Regions from separate parts of the Homo sapiens genome. Here regions 1 and 3 are each linked to region 2. Evidence: promoter capture Hi-C in 16 types of primary human blood cells and fetal thymus (Javierre and others, 2016). All regions are on one chromosome and are shown on one strand. Each heading gives the region's core, a stretch centred on a gene start or on the middle of the fragment in contact. The rest is flanking DNA. Distances are from core to core; before and after follow the strand shown.

Region 1 (4,395 bases), core at 191-2,690, 280 kb after region 2:
CAAAAGGTAGTCATCACATCCAGTCAGTTCACAACTCACCTGGACCTGGGGTCCCCCTCTTTCCTCATTATGGTGTGTTTCCCTCCCTCGTTCCGTACATCGCTCTCATTCTCACCTTCTTTCTCTAGCTCTTTCCTTCCCCTTTATTTTCTCCCTAGGATTCTGCTCATTTTGAGCCCCTCTCCTCTCCTGCTGCTCCTCCCCGTCTTCCCTCTATTCTTTCTCTTCCACTTGCTCTTTCCATTCTTGCAATGTATTTAATTCCTCTTTCTTCCTAATCTTTTCATTGTCCCAGTCTCCACATATTTCTGGCTCTTTCTTCCCCATTTCAGCACTCCCTGTTAAATTCCCTCTTCCCTGTTACACACCGTTGTCCCCACTCTTTGGCACCCCCAGATCCCAGGCCTCCCCGTGCTGTGGTTCTCCCTCTGCTTCTCCTTGTCATCGGCTGCCCCCTCTTGCTGTCCCGGTACCACACTGCCCTGTCTGCCCTGGCTCCAAATCCCTTCTGCTCTCCCCCACTCTCTGTCTGAGGAGCCTCCTCCTTTGCTGCCCCTCTCCCTACCTGGCTGTCCTTCATCTCTCTGGATACTGTGCTTTTTCTCGAAATGTGTCTAGTTACTTTTCTCTCCCTGCTACTTTCTCGGCTTCTTCTTCCACTCTTACTGTCTCTGAAAATCTCTAACCATCCTCTACTTTGCCATCTGTTTATTGGTTTGCCTCATTCCTTCCTGTCTCAGGTTTTCTACTGCTCTCTCTGTCCCTCGATCCCTTTGGCCCACACATTCACAGGACGGTTTGGGGTAAGACGCCTGCATCCTGGAGGAGCGCATTTTCCACGGGGTGGAGGAGGGCAGGCAAGAACATCGGGTGTCACAGGACAGGCCCTGAGCACCTCCCCAGCGCGGGCTCAGGGGAGGCCTGGGGAGCAGCGGGGCCCGGCACGAGGAGGAGGGAGGTGGGGCGCGACAGCGCCTTCAGACAGGGGTGGGGTCTGCAGGATCCCAGGACCAGGCAGAGGACGCAAGGCTCCCCGGGACTGCGGCTGCAGCTGCGGCGCTGCGCTCCAGGGGCCGACGAGGGCAAGGCTGGGAGGCACCCAGGACGGGAATACACCTCTTGGGTGAAGACTTTAAAAAGCCCGGGGATGGGGGAGGGGGTCAGGAAAAGGTTTTAAGCGGGAGGAAGAAGCAAAAGGCCGGGGACGGGGAGCAGCCTCAAAGCGACTTCAACCCAAAGGGAAGCGACTCCGGACCCACACTGCGAGGCCTGTATTCACCTGGGGTGGAGTGTACGGGGATTTTAAGGGCCGTATCGACCCTGGACATCGGCTGTGGAAATGGGAAACAGGGAGCGCAGGTTTAATCTACACAGAGGGTCACTCACGCTCGACGCCGTCACCTTCACCCAACGCGATCCGTTTCCGGGCCTGTAGGAAACTGCGCATGCGCGGAGAGAAGAGCCCGGGCAGCCTGAAGGAATGGCTGGAGTGGGCGGGGTCTGCGCCGCTTTAAGGTAAAAAAATCAGAGTTGTGTGGGCCACTTATGGTGGAAACCAAAATGTTTTCCACTTACCAAGTTGAAAACGGTTTATGTTAAAACTATTTTGCCTGCAGGTTGGACCCGATCCTGCTAGGGAGTCTCCTGCAGCTTAGCAGTCCGGGAACTGGGATTTCGGTGGGGAATCCAAAACTAGCAGTGATTGGATCCATAAAAGTTACCAAAAAACAAAAATGAAGTGTCTGGAATCACTCCACTGGATTTCAAGACTACCAATATAGGAAAGGTAATAAAAACTGTGTGGTTTTGGGGCAATAAAAGACATATGGATTGATGCAATACAGTAAGAGAGTACAAAAATAGCCTCTACAGGTACTTCCAACTGATTTTTGACAAAGTTACCAAGGGAATTGAATGAAGAATTTTTAAAAACTGGTGAGGGGCTAACTTAATATCCACAGCAGGAAAGAAGTCATCTCTACTCAAACTTCACAACCGTACAGACATTAGTTCAACATTGACCATAGCCTAAATGTAAAATATCAAACCATAAAATGGTATCCTGTAGGAGACTGAAAGAAAAAATTACTCACAATAAAATCGTAAGAATCAAGAGCTTGTTCAAAAATTCTTAGCCATAGCAGCAAAAGCATGATTCATTAAAGAAAAAAAAAATCAACTGGTATTTACCAAATTAAAAACTTTTGGTCTGTGAAAGACCTTCAGACGATGAAAGAAAAGGTATTTGATATGGTTTGGCTCAGTGTCCCCATCAAATCTCATTTTCAAGTATAAACCTCAGGTGTTGAGGGAGGGACCTGGTGGGAGGTGACTGGATCATGGGGGTGGTTTTCCCCAAGCCGTTCTCATGATAGTGAGCTCTCAGGAGATCTCATGGTTTAAAAATCTGTGATAGTTCCTCCTTTGATCGCTCTCTCTCCTGCTGCAAGCAAGACGTGCCTTGCTTCGCCTTTGCCTTCCTCTATGATTGTAAGTTTCCTGAGGGCTCCCTAGCCATGCGGAACTGTGAGTCAATTAAACCTCTTTTGTTTATAAATTACCCAGTCTCAGGTTGTCACAGGAGGGTTTAGGCAGTGTGAAAATGGACTAATACAGTACTGAATAATAGAAAATATTTGCCTACCATATATCTGACATAAAACTGGTATGTGGAATGTATAAAGAATCCTAGAACGACTTAAAAAAAAAGCAAAATAATCAAATTAGAAAATGGATAGAACTATGAAGAGACATTTCACTGAAGCAGATATACTGAGATAAATGGGCACATAAAAAGATTTCCAACATCACCATCCATCAAATCTCAGACCTCAGCATATTCTGCTTTCTCCATGTGAACCCCTGGATGCTGTCAGAGATCATGAGAAACACAGGAGCTTCTACTGAACAGTCCAGTTGATGTGTATTAGCAACCTGTAATTGTTTTTGGAAACGAACAATGGAAACACAGATACAAAAATATTCTCAGCTCAAGAAATATGCACTTTGTCATTATTAGTGATTTTTTTTTTTTTTTGAGACAGAGTCTTGTTCTGTCACCCAGGCTGGAGTGCGGTGGTGTGATCTCAGCTTACTGTAACCTCTACCTCCCAGGCTCAAGCGATTCTCCTGCCTCAGCCTCTTGAGTAGCTTCAACCACACGCACGCGCCACCACACCCAGCTATTTTTTGTATTTTTAGTAGAGATGGGTTTTCACCATGTTGGCCAGGCTGGTCTCCAATTCCTGACCTCAGGAGATCCACCCCCCTTGGCCTCCCAAAGTGCTGGGATTACAGGGGTGAGCTACAGCGCCTGGCCACCACTAGAACTAACACCTCAGGTACTGGATGCCTCCTTCGAAAGATTGGATAATCGTTCTTACAGGATTATGTGGTAATGAGTGTCTCTGTCATTCATTTAGGTAAGATGCATACGCAATAGTGATCTATAAAATATAGACTTAATTGATCTATAAAAATATAGATTTAATACAAAGTTACCACAATCACAATGATATATGAAGATAAACCATTTAAAAATTACAAGAGATACTAACAAAATAGGTATAGATGGTGAGTAAAGGACAAAAATAACTAGCATTGTTACTGTAGCATCATCATTAAAAGCTTTGTCTTTGCAACCAGACAACATGGATTCAAATCTCGATTCTGCCTCTTACTGAAATGTGACAAGATGAGTCTTTTAAAGCAGAATATGCTGAGATCTGAGATTTGATGGATGGTGATGTTGGAAATCTTTTTATGTGCCTATTTATCTCAGTATAACTGCTTCAGTGAAATGTCTCTTCATAGTTCTACCCATTTTCTAAATATATATATATATATATATATATATATATATATATATATAGAGAGAGAGAGAGAGAGAGAGAGAGAGAAAGAGAGAGAGAGAGAGAGAGAGAGATGGAGTCCCGCTCTGTCACTGAGACTGGAGTGCAATGGTGGGAACTCGGCTAACTGCAACATCCGCCTCCCAGGCTCAAGCAATTCTCCTGCCTCAGCCTCCCGAATAGCTGGGATTACAGGCGCCCGCCATCACACCCAGCTAATTTTTGTATTTTTAGTAGAGACGGGGTTTCACCATGTTGATCAGGCTGGTCTCGAATTCCTGACCTCAGGTGATCCCCCCGCCTCGGCCTCCCAAAGTGCTGGGATTACAGGCATGAGCCACTGTGCCCAGCCTAATTTGATTATTTTGCTTATCTGTCCTAAGTTTCCTCACCTCTGAAATGAGAATATCATTAATACTTATTTCAGGAGCTGATGATTCAGTTGTTACACATAAAGCATTAATAACTGTGATTCTTACTCTAAATGTGATTGATATAAAATATATATGCAAAGATAAATCACTTATTAAAGAATATATATCAG
Region 2 (4,112 bases), core at 861-3,360:
GAGCCAAAGTGAAGAGTCGGGCTTTTGTCCTGGGGAACACGGGAAGCAGGTGGAGGGTTCCCTGCCAGGCACTGACATGACCTGCTTTAGATGTAGCTGTGATATTCTAATACAGACAAAGGCCTCCAAAGATCCTCTCTGTTTCTGAGTCTACCGCTCTGTTTCTTCCATTCTTCTGCTTTTTTTTTTTTCATTTTTGGGGTACTGCATCCCACTGAAAATTCTAATTACAACTGGGCACTCTCCTCTACCAGAAAAAAAGCCACACCCAGACACCGCCTCTATTTTGCCAATCATTTCAGGGGTCAGGATCACTCAGGTTGAGCTTTTCTGGTCTAGCCCTTCGTCGCAAAGATGCAGGGAGGTTCACTGGGGCTCAGAGCTGGAAACATTTTCACGAAGTTACCCTGAGAAGGTCTGAGATGAGTGAGAAGGTGTGCCTGAATTCTTACATGGGGGCCTGGAAGGGCTAATGGGATGGGTTGGTCTTATCATCCCATTCTTAAAATTAGAGAAGCATTTTTCACATGCCTGGGTTAAAGAAAATTCTTTTGAAAGGTTCTGATGAAATTGACTCCCAACATTGAATTCTTCCTTACAAGAAAATCACACTAACATTTATAAAATGCAGCAGTGTAAACACACAGCTCTTGACCTTGAAAACAGGGAAACAGGGTCAGCTGTAGAACCAAGACATAAGCAAATTATTTCAATCAAGAAATACATGGGTGGACAGCTGAGGTGGTTCACACCTGTAATTCCAGCACTTTGGGAGGTGGAGGTGGGTGGATTACCTGAGGTCAGGAGTTTGAGACCAACCTGGCCAACATGGTGAAACCCTATCTCTACTAGAAATACAAAAATTAGCTGGGCTCCATCCTTGCAACTTATTTAACCTCCTGTTGGTCCTTCTCCCCAATCTTTAGATCGTCCTCAATCTCCATAGATTTCTGCCTCTTCTCCCATCTATGCGCCTCCTCTGCTCTCCCTGTTAAATTCTCTCTTCTCTGTTATAACCCCCTGGACCCAATCTGGCACCCCAGATCCCCAGGTGTCCTCCCCGCTGTGCTTCTCCCTCTGTTCTCCTTGCCACCAGCACCACTCTGCTCTGTCTGACCCGGCTCCACATCCCTCCTCCTCTCCCTCACTCTGATGAGCCTCCACATTTCTGCCCCTCTCCCTACCTTGCTGTCCTTCATCTCTCTGTACATCTAGCTTTTCTCTACATTTCTCCAGTTGCTTTTCTCCTCCTGCTTTCTTATCTTTTATCACTTTTGCTGTCTCTTGGCAAATCCCTCACCCATCCTCTACTTTGCCATCTGTTATGGGTCTTTCTCATTCTTCTTTTCTCTGTCTCAGGTTTTCTACTGCTCTCTCAGTCCCTCTCTCTGTCTCCTGATCCCTTTGGCCCACACGATCACAAGAGGGTTTGGAGTAAGACGCCTGCATCTCGGAGAAGCGCATTTTCCAAGTGCTGGAGCTGGGCGGGCAAGAACACCCCGCGTCACAGGACAAGCCCCAGGCACCTCTCCAACGAGGGCTCAGGGGACGCGGTGACTGCGGAGGGGAGATCTGGGGAGCAGCAGGGCCCAGCAAGAGGAGGAGGGAGGTGGGGAGCGACGACGCCTTCGGACAAGGGTGGGATCCGCAGGATCCCAGGACCACAGAACGCAGCCTTCCCGGGACTGGGGTCGCCGCGCTGTGCTCCAGGAACCCAGGAGAGTAAGGCTGGGAGGCGCACAGGGTGGGAATACACCTCTAGGGTGAGGACTTTAAAAAGAGCCGTGCGGAAGGAGTCAAAAAACGGTTTTGAGCAGGAAAACTACGCGATAGGAAACGTATACATTGCCCTATGGCAGAAAGACCCGGGACGGGACCAGCCTCAGGGCGACTTTAAACCTAAAAAGAAGGGGCTTCCGGACTCCCAGTAGAACATCTCCATTTGCTCTGAGTGAAGGAAGAAAGGCGAGAACTTCCAGGTCTATGGGGACCCCACATCCCATGTACAGAAGTGCCGGGGACCTGGGAAGCTCAGACTTAACACCACACAGAGCAAAACTCACCGCCCGCCGCGGCGTGACCGTCATTCCACGGGATCCACTTCCTGGTCTGCGCGAATCTGCGCGCGCAGGACAGAAACCAGGCCTGGGTGGAGCCAACGAGGAGGCGAGCGGGGCCCGGGTGAGGTGTGGGCGGGGCGCGAAGCGGCGAGACCTTGCCCTTTAGAACCCGCAGAGGGCGGGGCCGGAGCGGGACCTGTGCATCTCTCAGCCTCCTCCCAACCCGTTCTCCGGGTTTTGGCGGCGAGAGCCCCCAGGAAGGCAGACGGATAATTCAAAAGCCCTGGAATAGTCTGGAAGGAGGATGCAAACTAGAATGTAAAATGCAAAGCCCTTTCTGGGCGGAACGTAGGATTTCATGCTGATGGCCCACAGGACAGTATAGAAATCTTCTCCCTTTCTATTCTCCATTCACTCAGGAGGGAGAGTCCACCCAGTGCTCAGCTTCAGAGACATCCCTAGGGCCACAGCCTGGGATGCCAGACGGAGTGCTCAGGCCAGGGAGGAGTGAGGTCACCACCTGCTGCTTAAACACAGCAGGGATGCGGGCGTGGGAGCCTGAGGTCCCAGCTACTCAGGAAGCAGCGGCGGGAGGATCGCTCAGCCTGGGGGTCCAGGACAGCCTGCGCGACAATGTAACATTCCCTCCCGCAGTCTCTCTCTTTTTTAAATTTTTAAAATAAAATTTTTATTAGGCCGGGCACGGTGACTCACGCCTGTAATCCCAGCACTTTGGGAGGCTGAGGCGGGCGGATCACGAGGTCAGGAGATCGCGACCATCCTGGCTTACACGATGAAACCCCGTCTCCACTAAAAATACAAAAATTAGCCGGGCGTGGTGGCGGGCGCCTGTAGTCCCAGCTACTCAGGAGGCTGAGGCAGGAGAATGCGGTGAACATGGGAGGTGGAGCTTGCAGTGGGCCGAGACCGAGCCACTGCACTCCAGCCTGGGCGACAGAGCCAGACTCCCTCTCTAAAAATAAATAAACAAACTAAATTTGCTTGTGTGAGATAGGAATACAACATTACTCTTCTCCATATGGATATCCAGTTAGTTGTCCCAGCACATTTGTAAAAGAGATCTGTTACTTTCTCCTTTTTATTTACATTTTTTCTTTTTCTTCTTCTTCTTCTTTTTTTTTTTTTTTTTGAGACTGAGTATTTCTCTGTCGCCCAGGCTGGAGTACAATGGTGACATCTCGGCTCACTGCAGCCTCTGCCTCCTGGGTTGAAGCGATTCTTCTGCCTCAGCCTCCGGAGTAGCTGGCATTACAGGCACACCCACCATGCCCGGCTAATTTTTGTATTTTGGGTACAGACGGGGTTTCATCATGTTGGACAGGCTGGTCTCGAACTCCTGACTTCAAGTGATCCGCCTGCCTCGGCCTCCCGAAGTTCTGGGATTACAGGCGTGAGCCACTGTGCCTGGCCCAAGAAATACTCTTTACTTCGCTTTTTAAATGTTGAAAAAATACAATTGAAAACTAAAAAATCTTCCCCAAAATGAGAAATCATCTTCATGACAAAACAGGAAGAAATAAAAACCATTTTATTAGTAAATAAGCCTTAGACCAGAATGTGTTGGGAAATACAGGCAAAGAGCTGAGAGGTTGAAAAGAGAGAAACTTCACTGCTCTATACAACCCATTAAGTACATGTTTTCAAGATAAACACTAATCAGTCCTCAGGGAAGAGGACTTGACAAGTCTTTGGTCGCACATAGTTCATCCTGGCTCTACTTGGTAATGGAGGTGACCATCTGTGTCAGCTAACTAGCTTCATGCAGAAGGAGGGGAAATACATTAACCCACGTCTTTTTGACAAGTGTGAGTTTTACGACATGGCGACAGGTGCCCTCTCTAGTGAGGCTCCTACAATCTGACGGAAACTGACGTCAGCAGTAAATAATAAAATTCAGAATACACGATTAATTATAGAGTTTATTGGAACACAAAGTTTGAGGATAGCCATCTGGAAACATCAACTCCAAATGAAGGGGGCCCGTGTTCCCATGTAGAGATGTTAAGGTTTCACACACAGGGAAAGACAGAG
Region 3 (3,905 bases), core at 106-2,605, 400 kb after region 2:
GTCTCTGCTAAAAATACAAATTCACCGGGCATGGTGGCGCATGCCTTTAATCCCAGCCACTCGGGAGGCTAAGGCAGGAGAATCGCTTGAACCCTGGAGGCGGAGGTTGCAGTGAGCCGAGATCAAGCCACTGCACTCCAGCCTGGGTGACAGAGTGAGACTCCGTCTCAAAAAAATAAATAAATAAATAAAAGAAAGCAAAAGAAAGCATTTAAACCTCATAAGCTGAACAATACATTTAAGAGAAAATACTTTGAAAATTTTTTTTAAATCCAATAAATTATGGAATTACATTTAAGACAAGTTGAATACACGTCAAATTTAGAAAATGACACAAGCCACACACAAAAAAGGAGGGAATAATATTGTTAATGTCTGTTTGCAAAAGCAGCATACGGTGTCACAGTTTCTTCCCATTTCTTGACTCTCCTCAAGATCAGAGAAAGGGAAGAGGGTGAGCTGGAATTAACTGAGCTAAGTCAGTTAACCCTCTGGCTGAATAAGGGTTGCTTCTGATGTAATAATTAGAAAACGCAGAAGCCTCACACCGTAGTTTTGCAATTTTCATGCTCTTCTGCACAAACAATGAAGCAAATTTTAAATTAATTATAGAGCCATACATCAGTACTTCACAACTTAATGTTCCATATTAAATCAATCCACACTCACATGGATTTGGGTGCCCCCCCCTTTCTCCACCATTATGTGATTTTTTTCCCCCTCTCTATAAATGTTTCTCTTCCACCTTCTGTTTCTTTCCTTTTCTTTTTCCCATTTCGGCGTTTTCCTGTCCCTTTCTGCTCATTTGGCTTCCCTTCCTCTCCTTCTCTGACAGAGTGTTTGGCCCCATCCTGGTAGCATCCTTTTTTTCAGTCCCTGCTATTGTTTCTGATGGCTCTCTAATTTCGCGCATTTCTCCCTCTTTATCCTCCATTTCTGCTTCCCCTCTGTTCTCCCTGGAGAAGGGCGAAGGGTGTGTATCCACCCCGAGTGAGGGCTTTACCAGGGGGAGGGAAGAGGGAGTCAGAGAAGAGTTTTAAGCAGAGAAACGACGCGGTGGGCGGTCGGTGTCCACACTGACCTAAAGCAAAAAGGTCGGGGCCAGTACCCACTTCAGAACGATTTTAATCCGAAATGGACGCAGATCTCTAGACCCTCTCGGAGCGACGGGACTGGGAACGTCTTAGGGCCACGCCGCGAGAGGAATGAGCAGGTTCGGGGTTTTAACCTACAGGGCGACCCCAAAACCCGACAGCGGAGCGTGGGAACCTGTGGCCCGCGAGGCGCAGGCTTGAACCCGAAAGACGGAGACTCACCCGAGAGCGCCAGTAGCCCCGCGAGATCCGCTTCCGGGTCGGCAGGAACCTGCGCGTACGCGAGTGCACTGGGGCGGCGCAAGGGGCAAGGGCAGGGGCAGGGCGCGGACAACTGTGGGGATGGGCGGGCAAATGGCGGGGATGGGCGGGGACAATGGCGGGATGGGCGGGGACAATGGCGGGATGGGCGGGGCCTAGGGGTCGGACTGCCGGACCTCTCCTCGGCGCGTCCCAGCGACTTTTTTAGGCCTGTTTGTCGCCCAGCAGTACTCGATTCTTCACTTTTGGATTCCCTTGAATCTCTATGGTGTCCTTTGGAGCCTAGCTAAGTAAAAAATTAGAGACCTGTGGGCCCCTTATATTGGAATCGGAGCTTAAGATGGGAAAGGTTTGCTTGAAAACGTTTCTGCGAGCGATGGAGGCGCGTCCTGCGACGAGGCGGGAGGAGCGCTGGGACCTGGTGGATGGGAGAGGGCGACGGTATAAGGAAGCTCTTGGATCCAGGAACTTCTGAAATCCGGACGATTAAAATTTGTATTTAATTAAGCGAAAGCTGGAGTTGTCTGCGTAGGTGATGGAAACTGGAATGAGATGCATTTTTGTGCCTGTGCGGAGTGTACAATTTTATATTGACTTTCACTGGAACGTAATTTTTATTTCCGCTCCCCAGTCACCCAGGAGGCAGAGATGCACCATGGGCTGAGTTCCAGAGAATTTATGGGGTCAGACCCTGGGCGGTGGGGGGTGGAAGGCTGAGGCTTGGCTTTAAAAGAACGCAAAGTTCTGCTTGTATCGATCTAAATTTATTTTCCTTTATTATCCTAATGCACATTTCTTGAGATAAATTACAAATCCAAGTGCTGGATTTATTGGAGTTGGTATGTTGTGTTTTGTCTAAGTTATTAATTACTAATATACTATCGTTATTATTATTTTTATTATTATTTTGAGATGGAGTCTCTGTTTCCCAGGCTGGATTGTAATGGCGCGATCTCGGCTCACGGCAACCTACGCCTCCTGGGTCAAGCGATTTTCCTGCCTCAGCCTCCCGAGTACCTGGGACTACAGGCGTGTGCCACCATGCCTGGCTAATTTTTGCATTTTTAGTAGAGACGGGGTTTCACCACGTTAGCCAGGTTGGTCTGGGACCCCTGAGCTCATGTGATCCGCCCACCTGGGCCTCATGAAGTGCTGGGGTTATAGGCGTGAGCCACCGCTCCTGGCCTTTAGTCTGTAAAGTCTTTATTCTCAGTTATTTGGAAGAGTATTTTTAACATAATATGTGCTTGGCAATTCTCCTGGCCAACTGAATTGATTTCTCTTGGGCCCAGAGAGGAAACTTATTGACTGGAGGCTCCCCAAGAGAAGATGAGCCCATATGGGGGTATCTGAGTAAACCAAGGTCTATCCACTGTCTCTTTGGGTCTCTGTTTTCGTAACTGGGAATTACATCTGATAACAGGTGAAGGGTGAAAAAAAAATGAGAGTGCATTTTAGCATAAAAATACATATATGTTATTTACATATAAACATACACATATAAAAATTCTATTTATTTTACATATAAAAATACATATATGTATTTAAATTTTTTTTTTTTGAGACGGAGTCTCACCCGTACAGACGGGGTTTCACCGTATTAGCTACGATGTCTCGATCTTTTGACCTTGTGACCCACCCATCTTGGCCTCCCAAAGTGCTGGGATTACAGGTGTGAGCCACAGCGCCCAGCCTCTTTCTCTTTTCAATGTATTAAATGCACAAGATTCCATACTTTCAAATTCCATTTTGCAGAATTATTATATTTTCATAGGTTTCCCAAATCAAATATTAATTCAAGTTTCAGTTAGTTGTTTTAAAATAATAAATATATAGTTACATAATCTTTAAAATGATTCGTTTTCTAGCCTAAAATGCTTTATCACCTTTTATGTTTCATGTCTCATATTTTAGTGCACACTCTACCTAATGTTGTACATTAATTTCCGTGATGGGTGCCGTAGTATTTTTAGTCTTTGCAGACAGTGAAATGAGTGTTTCTGCTGGTATCTTAACATCTACTCACATTAAATACATTGGGTCATATGAAATTATTTAGTGCCTATTATAACTTATCAAGACCTATGAATATTCACTCATAAGTTATATTGATATGTAGAATAAATACTTTGACAAAAATAGGAAATTATCAAACCAAATTTATAAAGTGAACATGACAAATATTTATACATATGTAGGTGTGCGTGTATGTATGTGTGTGTGTATATGTATATATATGTGTGTATAGATATATAAAGGACACAACTAGGCAACTATTATAGCGTAGTAGTGAACACCAATGTTACTGCAACCAGGCTACTCACGTTCAAATCTTCACTCTTCTGGTATTTAAATGAGTCACCTAATCTCCTTGTGCTTAAACTCTTTTAGAGTTGGTGAAAGGAGAATAATATGAATTCCTACCTCATGGAGTTGTGAATATTAAATGTCAGAATAGGTACAGCATTTATAAAAGTCACTCATACATTGTAGGTGCTGTAAAAAGAAATACACGAAATGGGAAATTTGTTAACAATATATCTCTCTATA

Evidence for each region. The method cuts DNA at HindIII sites, captures the fragments that hold promoters and counts their contacts. A CHiCAGO score of 5 or more calls a contact.
Region 1: a contact is called between the fragment with the promoter of ZNF415 here and the fragment with the promoter of ZNF468 in region 2, in 6 of 17 cell types (M0 macrophages, total B cells, neutrophils and 3 more). The highest score is 8.2, in M0 macrophages.
Region 3: a contact is called between the fragment with the promoter of ZNF677 here and the fragment with the promoter of ZNF468 in region 2, in 4 of 17 cell types (neutrophils, naive CD4 T cells, naive CD8 T cells and 1 more). The highest score is 8.4, in neutrophils.

Annotation. Positions count from the first base shown.
Region 1 is chr19:53,131,470-53,135,864 of GRCh38, forward strand. ZNF415 (zinc finger protein 415) reads right to left here and starts at 1,441. Exons shown (of 4, transcript NM_018355.4): 1 at 1,387-1,441. It overlaps ZNF347 (zinc finger protein 347), which reads right to left. Exons shown (of 5, transcript NM_032584.3): 5 at 3,466-4,395. The HindIII fragment of the contact is 7,510 bases long and covers 1-3,625 here.
Region 2 is chr19:52,855,509-52,859,620 of GRCh38, forward strand. It overlaps ZNF468 (zinc finger protein 468), which reads right to left and starts at 2,111. Exons shown (of 4, transcript NM_001008801.2): 1 at 2,064-2,111. It also overlaps a transcript of ZNF320 not described here. RefSeq lists an enhancer at 1,710-1,789. The HindIII fragment of the contact is 10,660 bases long and covers 1-4,112 here.
Region 3 is chr19:53,253,518-53,257,422 of GRCh38, forward strand. It overlaps ZNF677 (zinc finger protein 677), which reads right to left and starts at 1,356. Exons shown (of 5, transcript NM_182609.4): 1 at 1,317-1,356. The HindIII fragment of the contact is 13,972 bases long and covers 1-3,905 here.